3 separate regions of the Homo sapiens genome follow, and all the other regions are linked to region 3. Evidence: promoter capture Hi-C in 16 types of primary human blood cells and fetal thymus (Javierre and others, 2016). All regions are on one chromosome and are shown on one strand. Each heading gives the region's core, a stretch centred on a gene start or on the middle of the fragment in contact. The rest is flanking DNA. Distances are from core to core; before and after follow the strand shown. Region 1 overlaps FARSB (phenylalanyl-tRNA synthetase subunit beta). Region 2 overlaps FARSB (phenylalanyl-tRNA synthetase subunit beta). Region 3 holds the start of ACSL3-AS1 (ACSL3 antisense RNA 1).

Region 1 (4,169 bases), core at 961-3,460, 300 kb before region 3:
ACTACAAGAAATACAAATGTTTAAATAGATTAAATATAGGTCAGGCACAGTGGCTCATGCCTGTAATCCCAAAGCTTTGGGAAGCCGAGGTAGGAGGAACACTTGAGGCTAGTAGTTCAAGACCAGCACGGGCAACATAGCAAAACACCACCTCCACAGATTTAAAAATTAGCTAGGTATGGATACATGCCTTTAGTTTCAGCTACTCGGGAGGCTGAGGTGGAGAATTGCCTGAGCCCAGGAGTTCAAGGTTACAATAAGCTATAATCATACCACTGCTCTCCAGCCTAGGCAACAGAGAACCTGTCTCTAAACAAATAAATAAATAAAACCATAAATAAATTAAATATGAATTAATCAGAATTAGGACCAGGAAAAATGTAAATGCAATTAAAATATCACAATGAGGAAAACAGAATACAAATATGTAGGTGCTAAAAAATATATACAGCTGCTATGGGTAGGCTGTAACTACAGTTCTAAACTTTTTATTAACTAAAGCAAATGTGAAAGAAAGCATGTACAGTCATTTCATTCTTCCTATTCCTAAGAAATGCATACCCTGGTACATTAAAAAAAAGCAAAAATTTCCTGCTTTGTCTGTAAAACATATTTCTCCCTGTAAGCTATACGGAATATATTAGCTTCCAACACATGTTACCAGAAGAGTTTTATAAGCAGTGGTGTAACATTATTGTGAGAGTCTGGGCTCTGCATTCAGACCACAAGCACTATTATCTTTTCCCCAGACTACTGCATAACATTCTTAAGCTGGCTTCTGTGCTTCCATTCCTGCCAACCTGTGGCCTATTCTCCATACGGAGTGGTCCTTTAAGATGGAAATCAGACCATGCAACTCCCCTGGTCAAAAATCTGCAAGAGGTTTCCATTAAATTTTGAATAAAATCCATGGCCTACCTGGGGCCCTATGTGATGTGCCCTGACTCCCTCTCTACCCTCAACCCCTGCTGCTTCCGCAGGCTTACTGCACTCCAGCCACACTGGAGGCCACACTGGTCAGCAAGATTTCCATCCTGGGGCCTCCATGCTTACTCTGCTCCTACATTCTTCCTCTAGGTTCACATGTGGCTTCCTTCCTTCCTTCAAGTGTCTGCTCAAATGTTCTCTCCTACAGAGGTTTGCCCTGAACACCCAAGCTAAAACACAGACACTCTTAGATCCTGCACAAGTAACCATAAGACCCTAAATGGAATTGTTAGATTGTGTTTTGAATGAAAAAGAGAACGTCTTTCCCATCACACTCACTATACCAACAAGCTGCTACTCGCCTTCAACTTGGTGCTTCTTAAATATTATTCATTTTCCCCATTGGAGGGCAAGTGCCCAAACCATTCACAAAAACAAAACTACAATGTTAAAAGTTAAAAGGAAATTTAACTTATTGAAATATAATAAACAAACTACTGTTATAGAAAACTTTTCTTAATTTTATCAGTGTATTTTATAGATATGCCTTATTTGCATATTTAAAAACCTACAGAAATACAAAAAATTAAACCTGAATCTGATCAAGCTTCTATATCCAACTACCAATTTACTGGAAATTTAGGGGGCCATTGGAACATATTCAGCAAAATCCTAAATGTAAGAATTCTATAGGACAAATGACTCAGTTTCTTCAACAAACTGAAAGGAAAAGAAAGACGGAAGGATGAGAGGTGCAAGTTGTAGATTAACAGAGACATGAAAAGCATATAAATCAATGTCAATGTATGAACCACATTTGAATCCGAACTCAAACTGTTAAAAAAAAAAATTGATGGGAGGCCAAGATGGGCGGATCACGAGGTCAGGAGATTGAGACCATCCTGGCCAACACGGTGAAACCCCGTCTCTACTAAAAATACAAAAATTAGCTGGGCGCGGCAGCGCGTGCCTGTAGTCCCAGCTACTCGGGAGGCTGAGGCAGGAGAATTGCTTGAACCCAGAAGGCGGAAGTTGCAGTGAGCCAAGATTGCACCACTGCACTCCAGCCTGGCAACAGAGTGAGACTCCATCTCAAAAAAAAAAAAAAAAAAAAAATGACAATTGGGAAAACTAAAACAATGACTGGATATGTGAGGTGATTAAGGAATATTATTGTTAATTTGGAAGGGGTGTGGTAATATTCTGTAAGTTTGTTTATTGTCACTATAATAAAATTTTACATATTTTAGCCAAGTTACATTTTTATCTTGCCCATTCTCCAACATATTTACTATCAAAAAAGAGCCCAAAGTTAAGAATTATGCAGGAGAAGGAAAGGATTTAGACAAGAAACTGAGTTATAGGCCCATGAAGAACTTTACATTTAACTTAACCATAAATATAAACCTCTTAGCCAAATTAATGATGGTAGGACTCACCTGTTGGTAAAGCAAGGTAAAATATAGAATCTGTTAGGTCAAAAGACAGGCACTCTCTTTGATCTTTAAGGTACTTTATGCAGAAAGATTGATTCTTTTTTTTTTTTTTTTTTTTTTTTTTGAGACGGAGTCTCGCTCTGTCGCCCAGGTCGGACTGCGGACTGCAGTGGCGCAATCTCGGCTCACTGCAAGCTCCGCTTCCCGGGTTCACGCCATTCTCCTGCCTCAGCCTCCCGAGTAGCTGGGACTACAGGCGCCCGCCACCGCGCCCGGCTAATTTTTTGTATTTTTAGTAGAGACGGGGTTTCACCTTGTTAGCCAGGATGGTCTCGATCTCCTGACCTCATGATCCACCCGCCTCGGCCTCCCAAGAAAGATTGATTCTTAAGTGTGCTAAGCCACAGCTATTTATAGTGACATTTAATGCATTTCTGATTATTTTCCTTCCACTTATATAAAATAGAAAAGACAGGATGTAAATCCTGAAGAACATAACAGTTACCACATCTTAAGAAATCTATCAAGCTTCACTAGGGGAATACAAGGCGAAGAGAGAGGTGGGGAGCAAGAGCTGAAAAACTACCTATTGGGTACTATGCTCACTACTGGGTGACGGGTTCAGTCACACTCCAAACCTCAACATCATGCAATATACCTTTGTAATTAGACCCACGCATGTACTAACTGAATCTAAAATAAAAGTTGACAAAAGGCCAAGCGAGGTGGCTCACACTTGTCATCCCAGCACTCTGGGAGGCCATGGTGGGTGGATCACTTGAGGCCGGGAGTTCGAGACCAGCCTGTCCAACATGGTAAAACCCCATCTCTATTAAAGTACAAAAATTAGCAAGGTATGGTAGCACACACCTGTAATCCCAGCTACTCGGGAGGCTGGGGCACAAGAATCGCTTGAACCCAAGAGGCGGAGGTTGCAGTGAGCCAAGATCAGGACACTGCACTTCAGCCTGGGCAAGAGAGCGAAGCTCTGTCTCAAAAAATAAATAAAAATAAAATAAAGTTTTTTAAAAAAGTAATCAAGCTAGATAAGTAAAACTGGGAGAAAAAGGTACATTTCGAATAAGCAAAAATCCATTAAGATTTACTGAAAAATCATTCTATGCAAATGAATTTGAATACCTCTTATTAAAAGGAACACCATGGGCAAACTTTAAAAGCAATAGGAAACTAGACCTCAGAAAATAAAATATAACAACTCATTACTACAATCCTTCCAAAATTAGTATAAGGATTCTTCAAAGTTCTGACCCTAAGTATAGATAAAGAATTCATATACTTGATATATATTACCAATTAGTTCTTTAATTAGTCTAGCTCTAATCTACAACATTAGCAGGTGGTTCTATAGATAAACTTTAGAATTTTTAAATTTAGTTTTAAACACTTTTAGAACTTTTAGAATTCTTTTTAGAACTAACCCAGTCCCTTATTTTTGTAGAAGTAAAAACCAAAATCCAAAGAAACTATTTCAAATCAGAATTCAGATATTATTTATAATAGCATTAACCTTCTTTAAAATATAACCTTCCAGTTCTAAGATTCCCCTTGATTCTAGAAGAAGACATGATTTTCTCTAAAATCTAGGTTAAAAAACATACAGACTTGCATATGCAAGAGAAACAGCACAAGAGCTTATCAGTATAAAAGAGAACTATTTAAAGTTATTAATAAGCAAAGATGTTATAATCTTAAAATGCCCTCCCTTTATAGTTAATATCCTAGTCTATAACACAAATCACTTAATACTCAATATTAAAGCAGTATCATTCTCATTTAAATATTCCT
Region 2 (4,493 bases), core at 1,468-3,967, 320 kb before region 3:
AAAAAAAAGAAGCTTTAATGCTTTTCTCCTAACTAGCTGCAGCCTTTCCCTAGCATTCAAGACTCCAAATATAGTTTCAAGCTCCTTCCTCACCCTATAGCCAAACCACACTACACTGTCTGCTGTGTTTCCAAACATACAGCCTGTGTTTCCTATCATTAGTTTGCCTTGCTTCCCCTGTCTCCACCTATTCTTCCAAAGGCCCATCTCACTTTGCAGAAACTCCCTATTGTTTTTCTGGATGCCCTGAAGAAGTTGCACTTTCTTCCTCTTCGGAAACATCAAGACAATCATTTTAACATCTTGGTTTGAGGGTCGGTATGTGGTGGTCTTTTCCCTGGCTGGTTGCTTGACAGCAGCACCTGTGTCCTACTTATCATTGTCTTTTCTGAAGTCTGCCTTATAACTAGGAACTCACACTCTTCTGATAAATAAATATCTAAGGAACTGATTGAAGCAGGAGAAGTCACAATATTAAGATACCAGTTTACAGAAATATTATCCATCTAAAGGTTACACAAAGCATCACATCCACCACAAGCTATGCTCTCATTTACCATTTCAGCTCTTTGCAACCTTTCAAGTATGAAAGAAATTGGACCTCACGTTCAGGACGCAATCTGCATCAAATTTTTATCTAGCTAAACTGTTTAAGAAATAAGATTTCTGAGAAGATTGTGCATGGAAGGAAAAGAAATGCTTCACATCAGCTTACAGGTTGCCATAAGCCTGGATGACCTGGTCTTAAAGCAAAATTCTAGGATGGTAAACTGGTGAATGAGTATATACAGGCACTAAAAAGGCAGACAACACTGGCAAGGATACTGGGAGGCAGAAGCTGTGGGGTCAACATGCATGACCCGGCTCCGGCTTCTTTAACTTGCCTAACCCCAGTTCCCTCACTCATAAAACCGGGCTCGTGGGCTGGATGAACTCCAAAATCCAGTTCTAACATCTAGAACTCCACAAGCATAACAATGTCTGCATTTTATTATTTCTCATGGAAAGTGGGTAAGAAACAACTTCCTGCTTATTTAATCTCTCATTTATTTAAAAAAAAAAAAAGAACCACACACATCTTCAATCTAAAAAAACCCATAGATTTCAGGGTTATTTTCAAAGGAGTCTCAAAATGAAAACAAAAACAAAAATTAAACAACCACCAACAAAAACAATCCCTGAGGACTAATAAATAAAAGAAAAAAACATATTACCCCACCAAATCTCATTACTAACTGTTAAATAACACTTTAAAAGTAAATGTTCTGTTAGAAATTTAAGATGCCAAATAGAGTTATAAAGCACAGTGAGGTAAACGGTAGGAATAAGTGGTGAAATATTTCTCTCAAGTTGTTTCTGGACCTTTCATCTAACAAAATAAATTTAGATTGAAGCTGCAGAAATATGAAAAGCAAAAATTTCAGAGTTCCTTGGATAATGAGAAACTATTAATAGAATATTAGGAGCACATATATACCATTTAGTTAGCCTAGCTTAAACTCTCCAACAAAGATTTTACTGTACTTGGGATTTTATACACGAGGATTCCCACCCTTGCTCTGCAAACTTTATGACTTGATTAACATGTGTGAAATCTTTCAGAATAACTTCTGAGGTTTTTGTTTTTGTTTTCTTTTTTCTTTTGTCTTAAAGCCATCAGACAGGCAGCTTTTGAGTGCAAACCATCACTTTAGGTCTTACCAGCTTCCAGTTAAAACTTCTGGGTTCACCATGTGCTGATGGCTTAAAGGTGCCAGTGATTTAGCCATTTTGATGGCTTAAAGGTGCCAGTAACTAGGGGTTACAGCTCAGTTGGAACGAAAGTATACTGTGCAGCACTTACGAGAGTTCTGAAAAGTGTTTTCTTAAAATGCTGGAGGGAAAGGGGATATTTTCTGGATAATATTGACAATTAATTGAAATAAAACTCTCCCTTTCTTTCTAAAATCCCAAATCAAAACTACCAACTTCATCAAAAACAAGGTGTAGCCTCTTCCTGACACTGTCACTAACTCTGGATTCGGCTCATCTGTCTTACCTTCTGATGCTTTGATCACATATCCCCCCTTGTCTTCACCAGGAGGCACATCGAGCAACTGCATAATTCTGTCCAGCAGCCCATGAATGATCTCAAACCCAGGATTCTTGTTGTAATAAACAGCACAGAGATGTCTGTAGTTTTTTGCACCTACATCTAGAAAAATAAAGGAACTGGTCACAACGCTGTATTAACCATTGCTTAAGAAACTGATTTACCCCAGTACAAACTTAGAAAAAGTCAACAAAAAAGAAAACCAAATATTAAACATTCAGAGAAGGATTCAACCTCACAAATGCAAAATAAGATAAAATAGTCTTTTTTCAGCTCATCAAATTCCCTAAGGTGTTTTATTTGGGGGAAAGAGTGAAAAACCCTCAATGCTGACCAGGGAAAATAAGGCTTCACTGAGGTATAAGTTGGTAAAATTCTTTGTAAACAATTTACCAATATATCAGAGCCTTAAAGCTTCATACTCTCTTATTCATAATATTAATACTACCCAAAGGAAATAATCCTAAATTCAAAAAGGCTTTATGTAGAAAGACATTTACTACAACATTATTTCCAATAGTAAAATTATAAACAACCTATATTAGGGATGGCTACATAAAGTACAGTGCAATCACTCATCAGGATACTAAGCGGCTATTAGAAAGCATCTTTATGATGGTTTATCATAACACAGCAACAGCAAATACTTATCATAGTAAATGAAAATTAAAAAGAGACCACAAGGTTCAAAAAGAGGCAAAACTAAATTACATTGTTTAAAGAACAAACATAGATTGGAAAACTATGAAGCAAGTAAGGTAATGACTATGACCAAAGTTAGGCTAACAATTACCCTAGGTTAAAATGAAGAATCTGTGATGGGGAGGGGTCATATAAGAAGCTTAGGATACTGGCAATGTTCCATTCTTAATGTGGCTGATGGTTACACTAGTGTGTACTTTGTAATATTTTAAAAACTACCTATGTTGAATACATTCTTCACAAAGCATAAAAAAAGCAGAATACTAAAGTTTATGAAGCTATGCTACCACATGGGTGAATCTTGAGGACATTATGCTAAATTAAATAAGCCACTCACAGTAAGACAAATACTGCATGATTCCATTTATATGAAGTATCTAAGTCATGAAACTCGGAGAAACAGAAAGTAGAAAGGTAGCTGCCAGGGGTTGGAGGGAAAGGGAATGGGGAATTGATATTGAATGAGTATAAAAGTTTAGCCATGCAAGATGAAAAGTTCTAGAGACCCACAACAACGTGCACATAGTTAACACTACTGTAACTGTGCACCTCTAAAAGTTTACTAAAAGGGTAGCTCTCATATGTTTTTTACCACAATAATAATAATTTTTTAAAGTATATGAAGAATAGGGCCAGGCAAAACAGCTCATGCCTGTAATCCCAGCGCTTTGGAAGGCCAAGGCAAGAGTTTGAGACCAACCTGGGCAACATAGCAATACCCCATCTCTACAATAATAATAATAATAATAATAAAAAGATGAAAAACAGAATCACAACTACATAAATATAGCCATAAGCCAAAAAACCCCATGAACAGAGAAAAAGACTGAAAAGAAATATACCTAAATGTTAACAGAGGTTATGTTTGGGCAAGGATAATTTTTTCCAACTTTTATTTACTTCCCAGTTTTTCCATGATTAGTATATATTATTCTACTTTGAAAACTAAAACAAACTTACAAACTCAATATTTCATTTTATTTCACTTTATTTTTTGAGATAGGGTCTCGCTCTGTTGCCCACCCTGGCGCAACCACAAATAATATAAAAGTGCACTGCAGCCTCAACTTCCTGGGCTCAAGCAATCCTCCCACCTTAGCCTCCAGGGTAGCTGGGACCATAGGCACACGCCACCACACTCAGCTAATTTTTTAATTTTTTGCAGAGACAAAGTCTCACTCTGTTGCCCAGGCTGGTCTCAAACTCTGGGCTCAAGTGATCCTCCTGCCTCAGCCTCCCAAAGTGCTGGAATTAAGGTGTGAGCCACTGTGCCCAGCTAAAGGCAATATTTTAAAAAAGAATTCCAACAGTCCAAATGAACACTGATAACAAACTGGTACATCCATACAGTAGGATACCACTCAGCAACAAAAAGGAACAAACTGTAGATAGACTTGACAACCTGGATGACTCTCAAAGGCATTACGCTGAAAGAAAGAAGGCTCTCAAAAGGCTACAGACAGTATGAGTCCATTTATATGACATTCTGGAAAAGGCCAAACTTATGGGAACAGAGAACAGATAGTAGTTGTCTGGGATTAGGTATGGGAAAAAAATGCAACTAAAATAAGGCGTTTTTAGGGTGATGGAACTTTTTGATCTTGTAGTGATAATTATAATCATCTAAACCTCTCTCAATTTACAAATCTAATGTGATCTTAAAAAAAATACCAATAGAATTGAAAAAAATTACATAAAT
Region 3 (4,375 bases), core at 1,331-3,830:
TTAGTCTCATCCTTCAGATGAAACAGAAAATACACTTTCACCAGATTTCTTGCTGTAAATTCCTCCACCTTTTCTTTTTCTTTTTTTTGAGATGGAGTCTCACTCTGTCGCCAGGCTGGAGTGCAGTGGCACAGTCTCAGGTTACTGCAGCCTCTGCCTCCCGGGTTCAAGCAATTCTCCTGCCTTAGCCTCTCGAGTAGCTGGGACTGCAGGCGCATGCCGCCATGCCCGGCTAATTTTTTGTATTTTTAGTAGAGATGGGGTTTCACCCTGTTGGCCAGGATGGTCTTGATCTCCTGACCTTGTGATCCGCCCACCTCGGCCTCCCAGAGTGCTGGGAATATAAACGTGAGCCACCGTGCTAGGCCTCCTACACCTTTTCTTTTAAACAAACATTCCATTTTTGTTGTCACAGGTTTGGATTTACATTGTTTCTTTTGAGGAGCTTTAAAAGAATTATTTTCAAAGTCATTTTGTGTATCTTTTTTGAGTTAGGCAGAAAGTAAATAAAAATCTACACTATTCATGTTATGTAATTTCAGCATTTCAGAGAATGTTTGTCTTTAGATATTTTTGCTTGAGAATAAACGGTACTGCCACTTGTTTGTGCTCTTTTCTTGACATACACCGTAAATCTGACATTCAGTGTGTCATCCTATTTGTATATGTTCTTTTTCACATTGTAAAGCCAAGTGGCCAACAATTAAGAATTTGAAGTCTTAGAAATCAGTTATAATTCCTTCACAATGTGGTAGTCCCAGAGTAACATCTGTAAGTGAAACAAAATAAAAATTTAAATATCTTCATCTTTAAAAATTGGAAATCTTGGGGCATTTAGGGGAGGATGAGTAGGTGTAATGTTGATTAGTATGATAAGATAACTTTAAAAAACATAACACTTATAGACTGTGGATTTAACAGTTTAGGGCTCCTAATGCGTTATTATGATTCATCTCCACATTCAGAGACTTTACATTTGTAGTTAAATGTTTGAATATTTGACTGGCTGCTGCTTTTCCTTTTAGTTGTTACATTATATGCCACTCTAGGAGGTCCAGCCATTGTTCATGCATTAAATGAAACAGAGGTGACCAACATCATTACTAGTAAAGAACTCTTACAAACAAAGTTGAAGGTGAGGACTCTAGTTACTTTCTAACTGTCTGATACTTTAGAATTTTCAGTGTCATGAGCCCTATTATTGATACTTAGTTCTTTTATGACTTTTAAGTCCTTAATCTTTGTGGACTTTTATGAATATCATACTTTATTTTTTCCTTTAGAAAATAAAAAGTAGATTTTGTATATATTCATGTATAAGTAATCCAGAGTTATAAATTGTTAAGATGCCTATGTTTAAATTGAAGAAATTACGACTACTTTTTCTCTTATTGTGCTCATCTATTTTCTAGTTTACTTTTAGTAAATTTGTAATTTTGAAGGGTTATATTTTAAACTAGTAATTTTTATTTTACTTCTGAAGCATTAAGTAATTACAAGTTTTCAGAATTGTTTGGAAGTTAAAAAGGGAGACTTTTAATTATATTACAGTAAAAAGAGTTTCTTTGGTCTCTAGACAACTCCCAGAAATATCTGGGCTATTCTATATGGGGGAAGGAGGAGAAAATTCACATGTAAACTTGTTCAAAAAGAAAATTTTGAACAAGTTTGCATGTGAATTTTCTCCTCCTTCCCCCATATATTTTTATGTAGTCTCTTGAAAATATGAGGGGCTTCTGGTTTCTCTACAGTTTAGGCAACCTGTGTTTACATGCCCGTTTTATAAGGCAGTACCCTTCTTGATCAGGGTTTTACCAAAGGCCAAGGGTACACACAGTGAATCTAATGCTATAAAATAATAATTTAAATTCAGACCAATACTTAATCATCTGTAAAAAGTGATATTATGCCAGTGTACCCTTTCTTCTTTCTTTTTTGAGGCAAGAAATTACTTAATGATTCACCGAATATGGTAAACTAGTATTCTTATTCGCTAAGCTGCTTGAAAAATAATGAACGTGATGAATGTTGGTGTATTTCTAGGATATAGTTTCTTTGGTCCCACGCCTGCGGCACATCATCACTGTTGATGGAAAGCCACCGACCTGGTCCGAGTTCCCCAAGGGCATCATTGTGCATACCATGGCTGCAGTGGAGGCCCTGGGAGCCAAGGCCAGCATGGGTATGTTACACTTTTCTAATTCCTTACCTGTGCTTTCTGGTGACCACATTCTCCAGAATTATGCCAAAGTTTTGATTCTGAGGTTAGCTCAAATGACACATCAGTTTTCTAACATCAGTTAGGAAAACAGGTCCCTCTAGGTATACTTTCATCTTGTCTTTAAAGAAAGTTTTAAGGAAAAATATAAACATTAATTATTAATGTTTTAAAGGTAGTATTTATTTGAAATTTAAAATATTTTACATTCAGTTTTCATTTCTTTTTTATGGTGATAGTTTTGGGTGGTTTAAAGTTAGTTTATAAATAATGACATTTATCTTGTCCTATGTGAATTACCTGTAAGTGTTAACAGAGTGGCTAAACCTGGAGGCCTCCTTTTACTCCCTGTTCCAGTTCTTCCCTTTCCTGAGGTGAAAACCTTACCCTCCAACTAGCACACCTAGGCATGGTGACTCTACAAGTTCCTATTCTCAAAAAAGCGTCAGAAAATGTTAGCTAGTGTACTAGTGTTTAGAGATACTGCAAAAGCTGCTGGGATGCTGGGACTGCATTTCCTCTGTAGTTGGAAACCTAGTAATTAGATGTAAGCATTCACTCAACTCAAATTTTAGGCACCTGGAATTTGAGTGGTAGTGGGATATTTAGATGCAGATATATTGTGGACAGTGGTGTGTAAAAGTCTAGTACTCGAGTTATGTTTGGACTTAGAGATTTGGAAGCTAGAAGCAGTTAGGTTTTAATTATAGCTGTGGGAGTAGGGGGTGAGGTCACCAACAGGGAATGGTGGCTTCAGAGGCTACTAAGGACTAGTCAGAGAGGAAAGAAGAAAATATCTAGTAGTATGTGGTTCCTGGAAGCCAAGGGAAAGGAGATCTTGGTGAGTCATCAGCAGGATCAGGGGCTGCATGCAGAGGTCAGATGACACAAGGATTGTAATTTCCAAGAAGTGGTGGTGTTGGAGAAGGGTGCTGTGCATTGAAGGAGTGAAGGGCTGATTTGGAAGTAAAGACTTCCAAGTGTAAACATTATTTAAGAAATGTATCTTGACTGACAGGAGAGGAAGGGTATTCTATTGGGAGTACATTTAAATAATTTTTTCACACTCATTTAGAAGTTCACATGTAGAGTAGTTCTGGGAGTGGTTCAGACATATCAGCAATGCCAACCATGACCTATTTCTCTTTGTTCTTCTGCTGTGCCACCTCTATAGCTTCTCAGCTGTTGTCCTTAGGCTGGTACTCTTCTGATTTCAAATGGTTCACATCGTGTTTTAATGCAGGACTCTGAGTGTAACCAAGTTAGTCACCATTCTGAAGCAGTGAATAGTTTTTAGCAAACACCTAGATACTCTAGTCCAAAGCTACCTTTATTTCTTAGTTGAATTACTGGGATAATCTTGTCTCCCTGATACCTTTTTTCCCCTTGTAAAGTTAGTTAGCCACACAGCAGCCAAAGTGATCTTTTTTTTCACAGATAATAACATACTCCTGTTCAAAACAACATTGCTTTACATCCAGAACGTAATCCAGAGTTCTTCCCGTGGCCTTTGAGGTCCTATGTGTGGTCCCTGATAGCCACTTGACTATTGTTTCTTGCCACTCTTCCTCTTGCTCACTCTGTTCCAGCCACACTCCTTGCTGGTCTTTAGATATGCTGAGCACATTCCTACCTTTGGGTCTTTGCATTTGCTTATTTCCTTCTAATTAGAACACTCTTCTCCCAGTTCCAGGGTTTCCATGGCTCCCTTCCTCACTTTATTCAGGCCTTTGCTAAACGAAACTCTACAGAGACGGTCTCCAGGCTTTTCCATCCAAATAGCATCTATTGTCATCTTCTCACCTTGTCTTGCTTCAGTTTTCTTCATAGGTTAATCTGTTTGTATATCTCAATAGAATATATCTCCCATACGTGCAGGGACTTGATCTGTTTTGTTGATCTCAGTATAACTAATATTTGTTGAATTGAGTTAAATTAACTCAATTTGATTGAGTTATTTATTTGATGATAATGAAAAGAAATTGTTGATACAGCTGAATCTCATGAAAGTGTATGTGTGTGTTTTTTCTCTTCAATGCAGAAAACCAACCTCATAGCAAACCATTGCCCTCAGATATTGCAGTAATCATGTACACAAGTGGATCCACAGGACTTCCAAAGGGAGTCATGATCTCACATAGTAACATTATTGCTGGT

The links. Contacts are between HindIII fragments. The CHiCAGO score rates a contact against its expected background, and 5 or more counts as called.
Region 1: a fragment that was not itself captured here is called in contact with the fragment with the promoter of ACSL3-AS1 in region 3 in 1 of 17 cell types (fetal thymus); the score reaches 5.2 in fetal thymus.
Region 2: a contact is called between a fragment that was not itself captured here and the fragment with the promoter of ACSL3-AS1 in region 3, in 1 of 17 cell types (total B cells). The highest score is 6.1, in total B cells.

The regions. Positions count from the first base shown.
Region 1 is chr2:222,614,525-222,618,693 of GRCh38, forward strand. All of the region lies in intron 14 of FARSB (phenylalanyl-tRNA synthetase subunit beta), which reads right to left. Among named protein-coding and RNA genes, the nearest start is that of FARSB, 39 kb to the right of the region's middle. The HindIII fragment of the contact is 1,357 bases long and covers 1,533-2,889 here.
Region 2 is chr2:222,597,890-222,602,382 of GRCh38, forward strand. FARSB (phenylalanyl-tRNA synthetase subunit beta) reads right to left here. Exons shown (of 17, transcript NM_005687.5): 16 at 2,039-2,194. Among named protein-coding and RNA genes, the nearest start is that of FARSB, 56 kb to the right of the region's middle. The HindIII fragment of the contact is 427 bases long and covers 2,505-2,931 here.
Region 3 is chr2:222,917,021-222,921,395 of GRCh38, forward strand. ACSL3-AS1 (ACSL3 antisense RNA 1) reads right to left here and starts at 2,581. Exons shown (of 3, transcript XR_923949.3): 1 at 2,519-2,581; 2 at 2,210-2,339; 3 at 1-769. It overlaps ACSL3 (acyl-CoA synthetase long chain family member 3), which reads left to right. Exons shown (of 17, transcript NM_004457.5): 6 at 1,026-1,135; 7 at 2,044-2,182; 8 at 4,260-4,375. The HindIII fragment of the contact is 9,982 bases long and covers 1-4,375 here.